Regions from separate parts of the Homo sapiens genome. Here regions 1 and 2 are each linked to region 3. The links are contacts of gene promoters, found by promoter capture Hi-C in blood cells and fetal thymus (Javierre and others, 2016). All regions are on one chromosome and are shown on one strand. The core of a region is centred on a gene start or on the middle of the fragment in contact, and the rest is flanking DNA. Distances in the headings are between cores, read along the strand shown. Region 1 holds the start of RPL7 (ribosomal protein L7). Region 2 overlaps TERF1 (telomeric repeat binding factor 1). Region 3 holds the start of NCOA2 (nuclear receptor coactivator 2).

Region 1 (4,885 bases), core at 1,618-4,117, 2.9 Mb before region 3:
AAATCTGTATTTGCTACACCTCCATACCACCAATGAAAATGGTACATTTTCACCCTTAAATTAAAAACGCAGGTATCAATAAGTTTGATGATAAATTATCAATACAGGGGAGAAGTGCCCAAGTCAATTTTCTCCGTACAGGTAAATGTTTTCCCTAAAAATGAAAAATTTTGTTAAAAACCAACAGCCATTATCAAATTTCCTGAACCAATATTTATGGTTGGTTATGGACTTTGCTTTGGCTTAAAAAAAAAAACAACTCAGATTCAGGTTAGTTAATAAGTATTCAGAAATGCAGATTTTCTGGGGTGACCAAAAACATGGAAGAAATTTACAACGAAGCCTAAATCCTCCAAGAGCTTTCTCTTAGGAAGCAAGGCGTCTTTCAATCACGCTCAGGGAATGTAACTAAAGCACTTATCGCTGGCGAAACAATGTAATTATGTTCCTCAGGCTAAACTTATAATGAAACCGTCAATACTGCCCTCGTCTAAGGGGTTCAGACCACAGTAAGACAGACACTTCTTCAGTCTAGTCAGAACAACTTCCCAAAGACGCTTCAGTTTCCCATCGCGCCGCTTGTAAGTCGGAGCAAGACATTTCTTTGGGATCCAAACCTGTGGTAACAAGTTCCCTCCGCCTTCCCTACCCCGGAGGGCTTAGGAAACCCGCCCCCTCCCCCCGCCGTGGTCCCCAGAGACCGAACCTCCGCGAGGACAGGGCACCTTCTCCCTGGTAATACAGAAGTGATCGCGTTCCTTTATCAGGAAGCGAATTCCACTCGTCTCCCAAAAGACCGGTGGGGTGTTCCTTTCCTCCACAGCGGGGCTGACCAGGCAGCGGGGTTTGGGGCCTGCCGTGGTAGGGCGCGGGGTGGAAAGAGGCTTGACCCAACAATGCTCCCGCGCGGGTCCAGGTTACCTTGCAGCGCAGCGGCGTCGGCCGCCTCCAGGTCGCGGTAGATGTGGCGCACCATGCCAGCCGTCTCCTCGTTGCTTTGCGTGTTGATGTCCCACAGCACCAGCAGCGCCCGACGCCGGGCGAACTCCAGCGCGAAGAGGCGGCCCAGGCCGCTGCCGGCGCCGGTGATGAGGCACACCTGGCCCGCCACGCTCTTCTCCTTGGGCCGCACCAGCCAGCGCGCCGCGGCCAGCACGAACGCCCAGAGCACTTTGAAAGTGACCACGAAGAACTCCACCACGATGTTCATCGCGACGCCCGGGGCCCCGCACGAGCCCAGTGCCTGCGTCCGCGCCCACCCCGAGCCCGGCAATCGGGCTCCCGGCTCCGGGGCGCTTGTCACAGAGGCCGGGACGAGAAGGCTGCGCCCCGCGCCCGCCCCCGAGGTGCCCGCCGGGTTGGAGTGCGCGGCGCCGCTCCCTGCCTGCGCGGGGCCACTCCCGCCCGGGCTCGGCGCTGTGGCCCCGGACTGTGCCCGCCGCGGCAGTCACCCGGCTCGGCGCCTCCTGCCGGCAGCCGCCCGCCCGTCCCGCAGCGCCCGGCCGGCCGGCTCCGCTGCAGTGGCGGTGACAGCCGCGAGTTAGACTACTCGAACTGCCCTCATGGCCAAGCTGCTGCCGCCCGAGCGTCCCCGGAACCGGCGCGCCGGCTCCCTCTCACCCCGGGGGAGGGGTGCGCAGCGGAGGCGGCACGGGCCAGCGGGCTGCCGCGGGAGTTGTCAACTCGACCCAAGTTGCGAGAGGGTGGGAGAGTGGGGTGCGGGGCGGCGGAGCGCCGGGAAGGGGAGACTCGCTCGGCGCAGGCAAGCGCTGCCCAACGCCTTGCAGCTGCCCCCGAGGGCTCGCGTTCCCCGGCCCTGCACTCTCCGCGGGTGTCACTCGGGCACTGGGCTCCGCAGCGCAGCCCGCTTGCAAGTCAGAGCGCTCCGGGCCGGCTCTGAGCGGGCTCCACGCTCCGCGCTATATAACCCCGCGACCGGGAAGAGCCCGCGCCAGCCTCGGCATCGGCCCTCCCTCCGCCCGGCCTCCCCGCCCCCGGGCGCACCCCGCCCCCGGCCCAGCCCCCAGCCCGCCAGCCGTCCGCGGAGCCGAGCCGGGTAGCCCCTCTCACACGGCCGTGGCCGCAACCTCAGCCCTCCTCGCACCTCCCTTCGCAGCTCACGCCCCCTCCCGTGGGGTGTCCTGGCCTCCGCCTGCCGAGCTCGGCAGTCAGCAGAGCCCCGGCCATCCTCCTCCGGCCGTCCGGTCCCCACTGGTCCCTGGCTAGCCACTTTTCGTAAGCTAGAGCACTCCAGACCGCCCCGCCTGCGATCAGGCGCTGCGGAAGACAGCCCTGTGGGCTGGAGCGACGACAAGGACCTCGCGGAGCGGCGAAAGGGGTGTAGTCTGCGACTACCGCGGCAGGGAGCCGGGAGGGCGGCCAAAAGTGACTTCGAATTGCAGCTAGCCGTTTGGAACGTGGCCCAAGAGGCTCTCATTTTCCTGGCTGGAACCGTCGCCGCGGTGCTTGCCTGCGGTCCTGGTCAGCCGTTGCCCTCCCGCCGGGCGGGCGAAGACTGGTGCATGCTGGGATTTGTAGTTCGTCCCCATGAGGCTCGTCCTGGGAACATTATGGGGAGGAACGGAGCCTAATCCTGTCAGCGCAGCCTGGGGATTAGGACCCGGAGTTGCCAAGGTGTCAGCACTCTTTGCTCTTGAATTGATTAAAAAGTCTAATCAAATGCATATATTTTCTTCAAACAAGTTTTACCCGAAAGTTTGTTGAAAGAGGCTAAATCAGGGAGTTCTTTGCGTCTGCAAGGCGGCTTTTTAGTTCTGGATTCTTTTCCGGCTTATTCTAAGACACCTATGAGTCGTGGGGCTTCTCTCGCGAAGTCTTTAAGTGGACAGTACGCATGCGCCAACTTCCTCTTTTTCCGGCTGGAACCATGGAGGGTGTAGAGTGAGTTGCTTCTGGTCCTCTTGAGAATCCTTCTCCATCTCCAGAGCCAGATACTTTTTGTGTCACTTTTTCTCTCTCTGGCCGTAGCTTGCACCTTTGCCCACCTCCCTGCTTGATTGTGAACGCTGTGTGACACCAGTGGGGACCTGAGGCTAGGGTTGGGATGCGGGCGGTCTTAGGACGGAGGTTTTGGAGATCCCGGGAACGAGATGTCGGGTTGGAATGTGTGTGGAACCCGTCGGTTGGCTGACGGCCCAGTCCTCGGTAGAGGGTCTTTCGGGGGAGGCGCAGAACCTCTGAATTGTGTTCGTCCTTGGCTGGTGCTTGGTACAGGCCTCCCTGCCGCCAGGCCTTTGCTTTCAACATGTGGATCCTGATTGAACCAGAGTGGTGGTGGCTTGTTTTTTTTTTATTTTTATTTTTTAATTTTTGCGCTTAAAGTCTCGGGGTCAGTGCCTTGCAGTAGTCTTTCAGCTAGTACATTTTGTTATTCGGGTGTTGGTGTGTTTTTTTTGTTTTTTTTTTTAATTAGTCGTCGGAGGCCGGGCCTCTTGGTTGAAATAGGGAAAAACGTATTGCTATTGTCATATTTGTGATTGCGTTTTAGGCAACATGGTGTTAAAGGTTATTGACATGGAGCTAAAATATGCATCGTACACTGTAGCATGCCAGAGCAAGTAAAGTTACTAGTGACTAAAGTCAGTGACAGCATTTCTGGTAAACAACACTGCTCAGTACGGGAGTAATACAGCGCTGTGAGCTTTTTGAGCTATTGATAACATTTTTGTTTATTAACGTTAGAGAGAAGAAGAAGGAGGTTCCTGCTGTGCCAGAAACCCTTAAGAAAAAGCGAAGGAATTTCGCAGAGCTGAAGATCAAGCGCCTGAGAAAGAAGTTTGCCCAAAAGATGGTAAGTAAACTTTTTGAGGCACTAGCACATAAGGAGGCGCCTTATTGGGATTGAGGATGAGGTGAATGTTCTTGGCAAGATTTACTTCCTAACTGTACTGAGTAATTGCTTAGCTACCTAATGTTACAATCTGAAGGTAGTGGGGTTTTTTGGTGGGGGATGTAATTGCATACTGTGGCAAGAAAAGATTTAAAGGAAACATGTTGTAGTTTTCTTTTTAATGATTGGCATTGCTAATTGTGATTGAGCTAAAAATTATGAATAACTGATTATTGGTTTTCAGCTTCGAAAGGCAAGGAGGAAGCTTATCTATGAAAAAGCAAAGCACTATCACAAGGAATATAGGCAGATGTACAGAACTGAAATTCGAATGGCGAGGATGGCAAGAAAAGCTGGCAACTTCTATGTACCTGCAGAACCCAAATTGGCGTTTGTCATCAGAATCAGAGGGTAAGTTCAGTTTTACTGCATTCGGGTTTGAATGGGAAAAAAAAAAAAAACCTTCACATTACTTCTGGGAGCCCTGATTCTGAAACACCGGAGTAACAATATTTTAGGGGAAGCTAGAACAAGGAGGGTGCTGATCACTAATGGTTTAGTTGCAAGCCATGTTCCCCAAGCTCCTATCCCTTCTCTTAATAGAATACAGAAATTCAGTGTGTAACATGAGAGGATTCCTATCTGTTTAGGTAGGATTCGATATTCAAAACTATAATGGTTAGTATTAATAAAAATTTCGATGAAAGGCAAATGCATTTCTGGTCCGTTTTCACCACAGTATCAATGGAGTGAGCCCAAAGGTTCGAAAGGTGTTGCAGCTTCTTCGCCTTCGTCAAATCTTCAATGGAACCTTTGTGAAGCTCAACAAGGCTTCGATTAACATGCTGAGGATTGTAGAGCCATATATTGCATGGGGGTAAGTCTCTTTTCTCCTTTGATTTCTATTTGATAAATTGGTTATGTAGCAACATGAATTTTAGATGTTTTAACAGTGGTCACCTTATTTATGTTTGCTTTTTCACTTCAGGTACCCCAATCTGAAGTCAGTAAATGAACTAATCTACAAGCGTGGTT
Region 2 (4,424 bases), core at 1,381-3,880, 2.6 Mb before region 3:
AGAAAGACAAATAAGAACAGCTTCTGGTGGTTTCCTTGGGGCTGGCACGTCGACTGGAAACTAGAGAAACTGCAAACATGATTGGCTTTTCTCCACAGGACATGTGCTGAGTTCCACGGCAATGCAATAGGCTGCAGTGGAAAGGCACATTAAGTCTCCCAGAGTTTTGGGAGGCCTAGGCGGGAGGATCACTTAAGGCAAGGAGTTCAAGACCAGCCTGGACAACATGAGACCTCGTCTCTACAAAAAATTAAAAAATTAACTGGGCCTGATGGTGCACCTGTAGTCCTAGCTACTCAGGAGGCTGAGGCAGGAGGATCACTTGAGCTCAAGAGTTTGAGTCTGCAATAAACTATGATGGCACCACTGCATTCCAGCCTGGGCCAGAGAGACACCCTGGCTAAAAAAAAAAAAAAAAGCTTAAAGTTCCATAAGAGGAGGATGACAAGCATTTCCCCTTTAAGATATCTGCTGTATTTCAGAGCTACGTGGGGGTCTACAGCCACATCACCCCAAACATGTCCAATCTTGTCAAACCTATGTGGGGTAGGAGACTAAACCCAATATGGTAGCTACTAGCCATACATGATTACTGCACAGCTACTAGCCATACATGATTACTGCACAGCTAAAATATGGCTAGTTTGAATTGAGATGCACCTTAAGTATAAAGTACACATGAGATTTCAAAGACTTACTCCAAAAAAAGGTAAAATATCTCATTTGATTTTTTTTAAGAGATGGGGGCCTTGCTGTGCTGCCCAGGTTGGGGTGCAGTGGTGTGATCATAGCTCACTGCAGCCTTAAACTCGTGGGCTCAAGTGATCCACCCACCTCAGCCTCCCAGAGCTGGGATTACAGGTGTGAGCCATGTGCCTGGCCTTACTAACATTTTTTACACTGACTACTTGTTGACATAGTGTTTGAGAAATATTGAGTTAAATAAGATTATCAAAATTAATTCCACCTATTTTAATTATCATTATTATTTTTTAGCTACACCTGCTGGAATGGGAATTTCTAAATTTCATGACAGGATTTCATTCTGTCACTCAGGCTGAAGTGAAGTGGCACAATCACAGCTAACCACAGCCTCAACCTCCTGGGCTCAAACGATCCTACCTCAGTCTCCAGAGGACCACACGTGGTTAACTTTTTATTTTTATTTTTTTTTGTATTTTTAGTAGAGACGGGGTTTCACCACGTTAGCAAGGATGGTCTTTATTGCCTGGCCTCGTGATCCGCTCACCTCGGCCTCCCAAAGTGCTGGGATTACAGGCGTGAATCACCACGCCCAGCCAATTTTTTAAATTTTTTGTAGAGACAGGGTCTCGCTATGTTGCCTAGGCTGGTGTCAAATTCTTAGGCTCAAGCGATCCTCCTGTCTAGGCCTCCCAAAGTACTGGGATTACAGGTGTGAGTCACTATGCCTGGCCTACTTTTCTTAACATAGCTATTAGAAAATTTTAAATTAGACATGTGGCTCACATATCTCTATTAGGCAGTGCCACTATAGAGCAAAATTAAAAAAAAAAAAAAAAAAGCAAAAGGGTTATGTATAGCCAAAAATCCAATACATAAAATTTTAAATGCTGCCTCAGTTTAGTGCATTATGGTGAAATACATTGATTCTTGACAGCTGACCCTGGCCTATTATATCTAGGATATATCCAAAAGAGTATCCTGGTAAATTCCAAGATTAAACCATGAGATCACACATAAAATCTGGATTCCCCCCTGCCTTTTTTGGAGAAAAGGTTATCCAGGAAGCAACTAAGATGTGCTGAACAACTGCTATGTGTAAAGCACTGCCAGGCACTTTAGAATACTTTTCCACCTTAATGTAGAAAACAACCCTGTTAACAACAGTGTCAACTTATAGTCTGCATGGTCTGGAATTCTGCTCCAGCCTGCTACTTCTCCAGCAACTGGCCCAGGCCTACCTATGGCTCTGTCTCTTTCACAACTATTCTGCCTCTATCTAGTTCTATCCATTTATGGTCCTGGCACCAACTCCAGACCTACCCTCACCCCCCAAACAAAGCAGACTACATCAGCCAGAGATACTTTAGTGAAGGCCTTGACAGTGGTGCTAATACACTGGGATTTTATGTAAGACAACACTTCAATAAGCAAGCAGTTTTATGTAAGTACTGCCCACTACTCAGGATTGTTGGAAAAGTATTTTGTAAATTATAAAAACCAATCTAAATACAAAATTATTTCCATCAAATAGCCTTTTAAAATGACCATGTTGTAAATACCAGCCATTACTGATAAACTGAATCAGCCTTGCCCATTACAATCTAAAATGGAACTACAGAGACAAGGGAGAGAGATTACAGCTATAAACTGTACTTCTTACGTAAGCGCTGGCATCAAGTTCAAATAAAAGGTTTCAAATATAATAGTTGCCAGTAAAAACAGAGTGTGTATGATTGGAGTCACCACAAAGTTAGCAAATAGAGTCAATGAAACACACTTCCCCAAGAGTAGCATCAGAATCACCTGGGAATTTATTAGAAATGTATATTTCAGAGCCCCATACCCATCCTACTGAATCTGAAACTCATGAGAGTTAGGGAGACTCAGCACTATGTTTTTTTTTTTTTAATAAGCCCTTTAAGTAATTCTGGAGCAGGCTAAAGTTTGAGAACCAATGTTCTAAGATGACAGGGACTACATTTCTTTTACTTGCTTTAGATATGACTGTATGTGTACACACACACACACACCACCCCCCCACACCCCTATGCACCAGACACTTGTAGGCAAACTTCCCCCAAAAACGTCTGTTTCTTCCCATTGTCTTACATTAGAAACAGATTGAAATATTTCCAATATAAAATAAAAAAACATATTTACCAAGGGTTTTTCCTGCTGCAATTCTTGTCAAAAACTGACATATGTATATCGTTCTCAACTGGCAAGCTGTTAGACTGGATAGTCCATGAATAATAGCTAAAAAAGAAAAAAAGTAAATTTTATTAAAATCAAACTTGATCCAGTAGTGCCACTGTGTGGTTTGTTGAGTAATAGGCTACAAACATATTGTAAAAATTATCATAAATTTAGAGTTGTACATTTAAGATCTGATTAAAATTCAGAACAAAAAAAAAGAATAGCAATGAAGACATTTCTTACAAAATATAACTTTCACATGTAGAATAAAAATTGTTGAAAATTCTTTCACAAGTAGCAGTCTACATTAACAAAAAAGATTTAGATACAAATTGTAAAATGTGTAAAATCATTGGTTGGAAACTTATACCTAGAAACATTTCATATAATAGAAAATATTTTATATTATTTCTATCTAGGTTTCAGTTAAGTGAGTCTGTTTAGCTTACAAAGTTTAAAACCTATTAATATTAACCTCCCCAAACTTGAATGCCCACCCAGATGTTGAGTCAGGCAGTGATTACATACAATACCAAGTAAGCCATACTCCTGGACCACAGTGAGCTTTTTACCATGTAGCAATGAGACAAGCGATTGAACTACTGAAGTAAAAATGTTGTGAAAACTTTAAAAAGACAAGTACAGAATGCTTTGGAAGCATATAACAAGAAATCTGTGTGTTTAAGTATCTTCTGCACAGAGGAGGTGTCAGGGAAGGCTTCTCTGAGGAAATAATGTCTAACCTAAGACCTGAAGGTGCCACTACTACCATTATACCTAACCCAGGGCTTGGTTGGTGTATATATAAAAAACTTAAATAACTAGCAAACTGAAAAGCAATTCTGTAGCAATTAAGCATATAAGACGAATATATTTTTACCCAATTTCCTCCCTCAATTCTAACATAATCTTATGCTACACCAGAGATTATCTGGACCATACACAGTCATAATAGAATTTAACAGGATTTTAAGAGAGCACAAAATTTATATAGAATTTAAACACAAGCCATTCAATATTTACTGAACATCTACTGCCAGCCTGTGTTAGGAGGTGATGACTTCAGATAGCCAGTCTCTGCCCCCATGAAGGTTTTAATCTGAGAAGACACAATTAAACAAAAAGTTATGTAAGTAACTAATTAAAATTTTAATGAGTACCACGAAGGATAGGTGCAGACATACCTCATTTTATTGTGCTTTGCAGATTGCATGTTTTTTACAAATTGAAAGTTTACCGCAGCCCAGCTTGAGCCAAGTCTAACGGCACCTTTTTTTTTTTTTGAGACAGAGTCACGCTCTGTCGCCCAGGCTGGAGTGCAATGGTGCATCTCCACTCACTGCAAGCTCCGCCTCCCAGGTTCATGCCATTCTTCTGCCTCAGCCTCCCGCATAGCTGGGACTACAGGCGCCCACCACCAAGGCTGGCTAATTTTTTTTGTATTTTTTTAGTAGAGACGGGGTTTCACCATGTTAGCCAGGATGGTCTCGATCTCCTGACCTCGTGATCTGCCCGCCTCAGCC
Region 3 (4,723 bases), core at 2,046-4,545:
ACAGAGATAACTGTGCTACATATTAGCTGACATAATAATATTCCCTTACATCTGTATAAAGAGCTTGATAGTTAACAAAGTACATTTATTTACACCATTTTGAGTCTTGCAACAATTACACAGATGAGGAAATTGCGATATTTAGTGACTTGTTTGAGGTCACACAGTAACTTACAGAGACCACTTCACATCATATTTATTTGCTTATATTCTATAGCTCTTTTTTACCATACTGTTACCTCTAATCTCATGATGTATGCTAGTAGTATTAACTCAAAAATAGTATAGAATCTCCCACTTTTATGCAGTTTACTTATGAAAAAAGTGAGTACTTTGAAAACTGTGGAAGAAAAGGCAGACAAAAATAGAAATTCTTGTCTTGTAGCAGTCATATTGTTCTGATTATTCCTAGGTTATATTGTTAAATATATAATTTGTCATTTTCTTTACTTTTCCATGCTGCATTTATGATTCTGCTGACATTTTTGGTGTTTCCTTGCCTCATCCATTCACGGTATGTTATTTCTACTTCCACTAAATTTCAATAATTTCCTTCCCCTTTATGATCTGCACCCACATATTTTTTCCTTGTTGTTCTCTCTTGGTAATATACCTAGTTCCTATATCTTTGCCTTCTTTTTTCTTTCCTTCTTCTTCCTTTCTTAATTTGTGTCATTGAGCCAACTTATTTACCGCCTCCTCTACCTTTTCATTTTACATTATCATAGTGATGATTCACTAAAAATTATGGCTAGTTTTAATAAACAATTGTTCTGAGGTCTCATGGGAATCAAAGTTCTTTCTAAGTATGGAAGATGTTTTTTATAAACATGTTTTATGAGCAAGGGATTGGAAGATGAGGTGGGGAAGAGGACATGAGGATCGGAATAGATACTATTATTTATATTTCACAAATTCAATGAAACAACAAACATCATACATTCCTTGTTAGGTGCTATAGCATGTACAAACAAGAACAAGACTAGGTCTTGGGCTCTGTTGCACTTACAATCTAGTGAAAGAGAAAGACAAACATATAAACAACTCTAGTGCAAGACAGACTACTGTTACAGCAAGAGCCTGAAGTTCAGAGGGCACCCAGAGATTGTACCAGAGCGCGTTTAAGTCACACAATTCAATTCAAGCTCAGGCAATTGAGTAGCACTTGGGCATGGAACTCATCTACTATGCTGTCAGACGTTTTTGTTTATTTCTTGTAAGAAAAAGTCTTCAGCCGTCGTAAGACGTTTTATTGGGTAATACGGGAATGCAATGGGGGGAGTCATTTGTTTGCAGAGGTATCATGGGTAGTTTTAAAAAGTGTGAAATCTACGATTGCAGAGGACTGATAGACTCTGGACTTCTGCCAAAATGGGAGGGATAGCAAGCAAGAAGGAGAATCTTTTTTTTAAATTTTTATTTATTTATTTATTTATTATCACAACTCCTGATAACTCACAGTTGGGGGTGAGGACAGGAAAGCAAATCGGGAGTTCAGAATTGTGACAAACCTCAGGTGACTACTACCCCATTGTAGACAAGCTACAGACTGGTATTAGCAGAAGATAGGCCATAAACAAACTCTCCATTTCCTCTCAACGCTTTGGGAACATAATTCTATTATTCCAGCTAGCTAAAAAAAAAAAAAAAAAAAAAAAAAAAAAACCTTTAAAAATATACATTAATACATAGTCAATGCAAACATTTCAAACATTAGATAGGTGTGCAAAATAAAAAGTGGAAGTGCCTCATCACCCACTTCTTACACTCCCCAGCGCTAACATTTGTTGTTATAGGCTTCCAAGCATTTTCTATCCACAAACAAACACAGACACACACACCCCACACATTTTTTTTATTCTTTTCCCAAATAAAATTGGCGGTACACCCACAAATTTTAGGATGAAGACATGTTTAAAAGCATGGGCTTTGGAGCTCACCAGAACTGGGCTCACATCCTCTCCAACTACTGGCTGTGACCCTGGGCAAATTACTTTAAGCTTCAATTTTTTGTGTGAAGTGAAAAGCGGCAATGACTTCGGAAGGTTTGAGGATTAAGGCCTATAGCATATATACATCACCTAGCACAGTCAGATTCACAGTAAGTGTTCAATAAACACTCTTATTGTCTACCGCAAGTGACCTTTCTCATTATAAGATTAAAATCAGGGAATATGTTCCTCTCATAGTTTGATAACTGCCATTAAACAAAAGTTTTTTTTTTCAACTAATTACCGTATAAGTTGGAAAAAAAACTTGCTTTTCCAAAGCGTAAAACAGATTGGTCTAAGTAACACTTAAATGGGGGTTCTCGCATTTTCAGTGCCAATCTCCTACGTCCCCTCAGTACTTTGTTCACGGATGTCTAGAGAATGGACTTTCCAATACAAACTTATGATTTCATGATGTGCCGAAAATTCTCAACCAGGTTAAGTTTCACACTCTGTGTGCAGCATTTGCTTTATCCCGCAATTGCCGGGTGGTGCCCCTTCCAGCTCCCACAGTCGCGCCTCTCCATCCCCTCTGGAGCTAGGACTGCAATGGGAGAAGCCTCTCCCTGTTGGAGCCGTAGGGGACTTGACGGATGCGGGGCGCCTCCGGGGAGCAGCGGCAGGACCGGGAGTTGGGTAGGGTGAGGTGCGCCCGAGGGGGTGCAGGGTGCTGGCCGAAGGGTCCGGCCGGACGGGCGCGAGGGTCCTCTGCTGGCGACCCTGGAACTCGGCTCTCCCCGATCTTCGTCCTGGGGCACCGTCCCTGCCGTCTGCAGCCCCCAGGCCCCACTGCCTCTAACTCAGCGGCCCAGGCCCGTCCCAGTCGCTAGTTTTCTTTTTGGCATTGCCCTTTGCCCTCCCATGCAGTCCTCTGTTGACTCTCTCTTCAGTTCCAGTCACCTCTAGGTCACCCTCCCTCTACCACAGTCACCCATTTTGTCCCCTGTCCCCTTACTCTTCTTCACCTCTCCCCGGGCCGCCTTCTCAGAGGACTCTGCCGACGGAGATGCTGCGGACCCCGCGGCCAGGGGCTGCTCCCCGGACAACCCTGCGTCCACCTTTGCCCCTTCCTCGGGGGCGCGAGAGGCAAGTTTCCGCCCCGTCCTTTTCCCGGTGACAGGACTTGGCGGCGGCCACTGCCGGGGAGGCAGAGGGAGGGACGGCCTGGCTCCCGAGCCCCCTCCCCTGCTCGCGAGCTCGCGCTGTCTGTCTCTCCGCAAGTGCGGAGACGCGGAGGAGGAGGAGGAGGAGGAGGAGGAGGAGGGAGTTGGGGGAGGATCTCCATTGAAATAAACAACCAGGCAGCAGTTATTAACACGGGAACATGGCGGCCGCAGCCTCGGCTACAGCTTCGGCGGCGAAGGTCAGCGCCGACGGCAGCCGGCACCTGACGGCGTGACCGACCCGAGCCGGTAACCGCGCCTTCCCCCGGGGCCGCGAGGGCGGGCGGGGGGCGGGCGGCAGGCGGGGGGCGCCGCGTCCCCACCCCCGGCCGCGACTGCCCTTCCTGCGCCGAGCTCCGACAGAGCCGTGCGCCTCCGAGAGGCTGTTTTTGTGTGCGGGGACCGCCGCCGGAGTGCGCGGAAAACGGGAGTTGCATCCCGGAGGCGCAGCGACGCTGGGGAGTTGGGGCTTGGGGGTGGGGAGGGCGGGAAGCGACGGGGAGACGCGGAGTCCCCGGGAGAGAAAGGAGGCGCTCCAGCGCCTTGCGAGAGCTCAGGAGACGAGTCCCGGAGCGCGAGGCGGGCGGAGGCTGCAGCCCGCGGCGCGGGCGAGAGGTGAGCGCCGAGGCGCGGCCGGGGGTGCGGGCGCGGCCCCCGCCCCGAGGAGCGAGTGCCCATTGCCCAGCCCGGTGCGGGGTCGGCGGAGACCGAGGCTCTAACCCCTCGGGGGCAGCGCGGCAGAGCCGAGAAGGTGAATCCTGGGAAGGTGCATTCTTTAATGGAAGCGCGGAGCGGCTGCAGCGGAGAGTGGGAGCCGGGCGAGGGGAGGCAGGACTCGGGAAGTGCTGGGGGTGTGTGAAGGTGAAGCGGGGTGTCGGGGCGGCCGGCGAGCTGCAGCGCGGGGCGGGGAAGGGGAGCCGCGGCCCGGCGGGTGGCCCGGGCCCGTGTCAGCCCCGGGGGTGGGGGGCGAGGGGCGCCGAGCACCGCGGGCGGACGGGAAGGAGCTGCGGCGGGCGGGGCGGGCGGCGCGCTGGGGCCGAGCAGGCCGGGCCGTGGTGGGGGCGGGGAGCCGGGGGCCGGGCCCCGGCGGCGCCGAGCCGGGCTCGCCCCTGACTGAACTTTCTGGGTGCGGGCGTGTATGCAGGAGGCGCGCTGGGGCCGGGGCCGGGGGCGGGAGGCGGACCGGGAGGTTCCGGGTTGGCTCGCCAGCGCCCCCTTTTCTCGCCCCCTTCTCTCCGCCCCTGAAGGGACAGGCCCTCGGGGCCCCAGGCGGGAAGCGGGAGGGGCCCTGTGGCCGCCTCGCGACGGTCACGCCCCGGGCACGGGGACCCGGCCCTCTCGGGCCCCTGGGGGGTGCTGGGGGAGGGGGCCGGGGTCGTCGCTGCCGGCTGCGCTCCCCGCCTCCTCCCCTCGGGGGAGTCCCAGAGGCGCCTCTTCCGAGACCGGGGGTGGGTCGGTCCCTGGTTAGATGGCCCCTCCCTCTTCCCCTCCCTCTAGTGGTTTCCGGGGCCTGCGGGACCGAGGGGCGGGAATCGGGGACTGGAGCCCCCTTCCGCTGGCCCGGAGCTG

What was found. Contacts are between HindIII fragments. The CHiCAGO score rates a contact against its expected background, and 5 or more counts as called.
Region 1: the fragment with the promoter of RPL7 here is called in contact with the fragment with the promoter of NCOA2 in region 3 in 9 of 17 cell types (naive CD8 T cells, total CD4 T cells, activated CD4 T cells and 6 more); the score reaches 13.4 in naive CD8 T cells.
Region 2: a contact is called between a fragment that was not itself captured here and the fragment with the promoter of NCOA2 in region 3, in 1 of 17 cell types (naive CD8 T cells). The highest score is 5.2, in naive CD8 T cells.

What each region holds. Positions count from the first base shown.
Region 1 is chr8:73,291,615-73,296,499 of GRCh38, reverse strand. RPL7 (ribosomal protein L7) reads left to right here and starts at 2,867. Exons shown (of 7, transcript NM_000971.4): 1 at 2,867-2,901; 2 at 3,703-3,811; 3 at 4,095-4,261; 4 at 4,590-4,727; 5 at 4,839-4,885. The coding sequence starts at 2,888. RDH10 (retinol dehydrogenase 10) reads right to left here and starts at 1,898. Exons shown (of 6, transcript NM_172037.5): 1 at 922-1,898. The coding sequence starts at 1,210. RefSeq lists a silencer at 1,206-2,165 and enhancers at 2,256-2,745, 2,199-2,906, 2,866-3,225, 3,236-3,285, 2,907-3,615. The HindIII fragment of the contact is 6,100 bases long and covers 1-4,117 here.
Region 2 is chr8:73,012,432-73,016,855 of GRCh38, reverse strand. TERF1 (telomeric repeat binding factor 1) reads right to left here. Exons shown (of 10, transcript NM_017489.3): 2 at 2,866-2,961. Among named protein-coding and RNA genes, the nearest start is that of TERF1, 5.8 kb to the right of the region's middle. The HindIII fragment of the contact is 4,417 bases long and covers 422-4,424 here.
Region 3 is chr8:70,402,380-70,407,102 of GRCh38, reverse strand. NCOA2 (nuclear receptor coactivator 2) reads left to right here and starts at 3,295. Exons shown (of 23, transcript NM_006540.4): 1 at 3,295-3,403. RefSeq lists silencers at 2,519-2,678, 3,369-3,678, 3,719-4,008, 4,039-4,698 and an enhancer at 2,779-2,898. The HindIII fragment of the contact is 4,231 bases long and covers 2,003-4,723 here.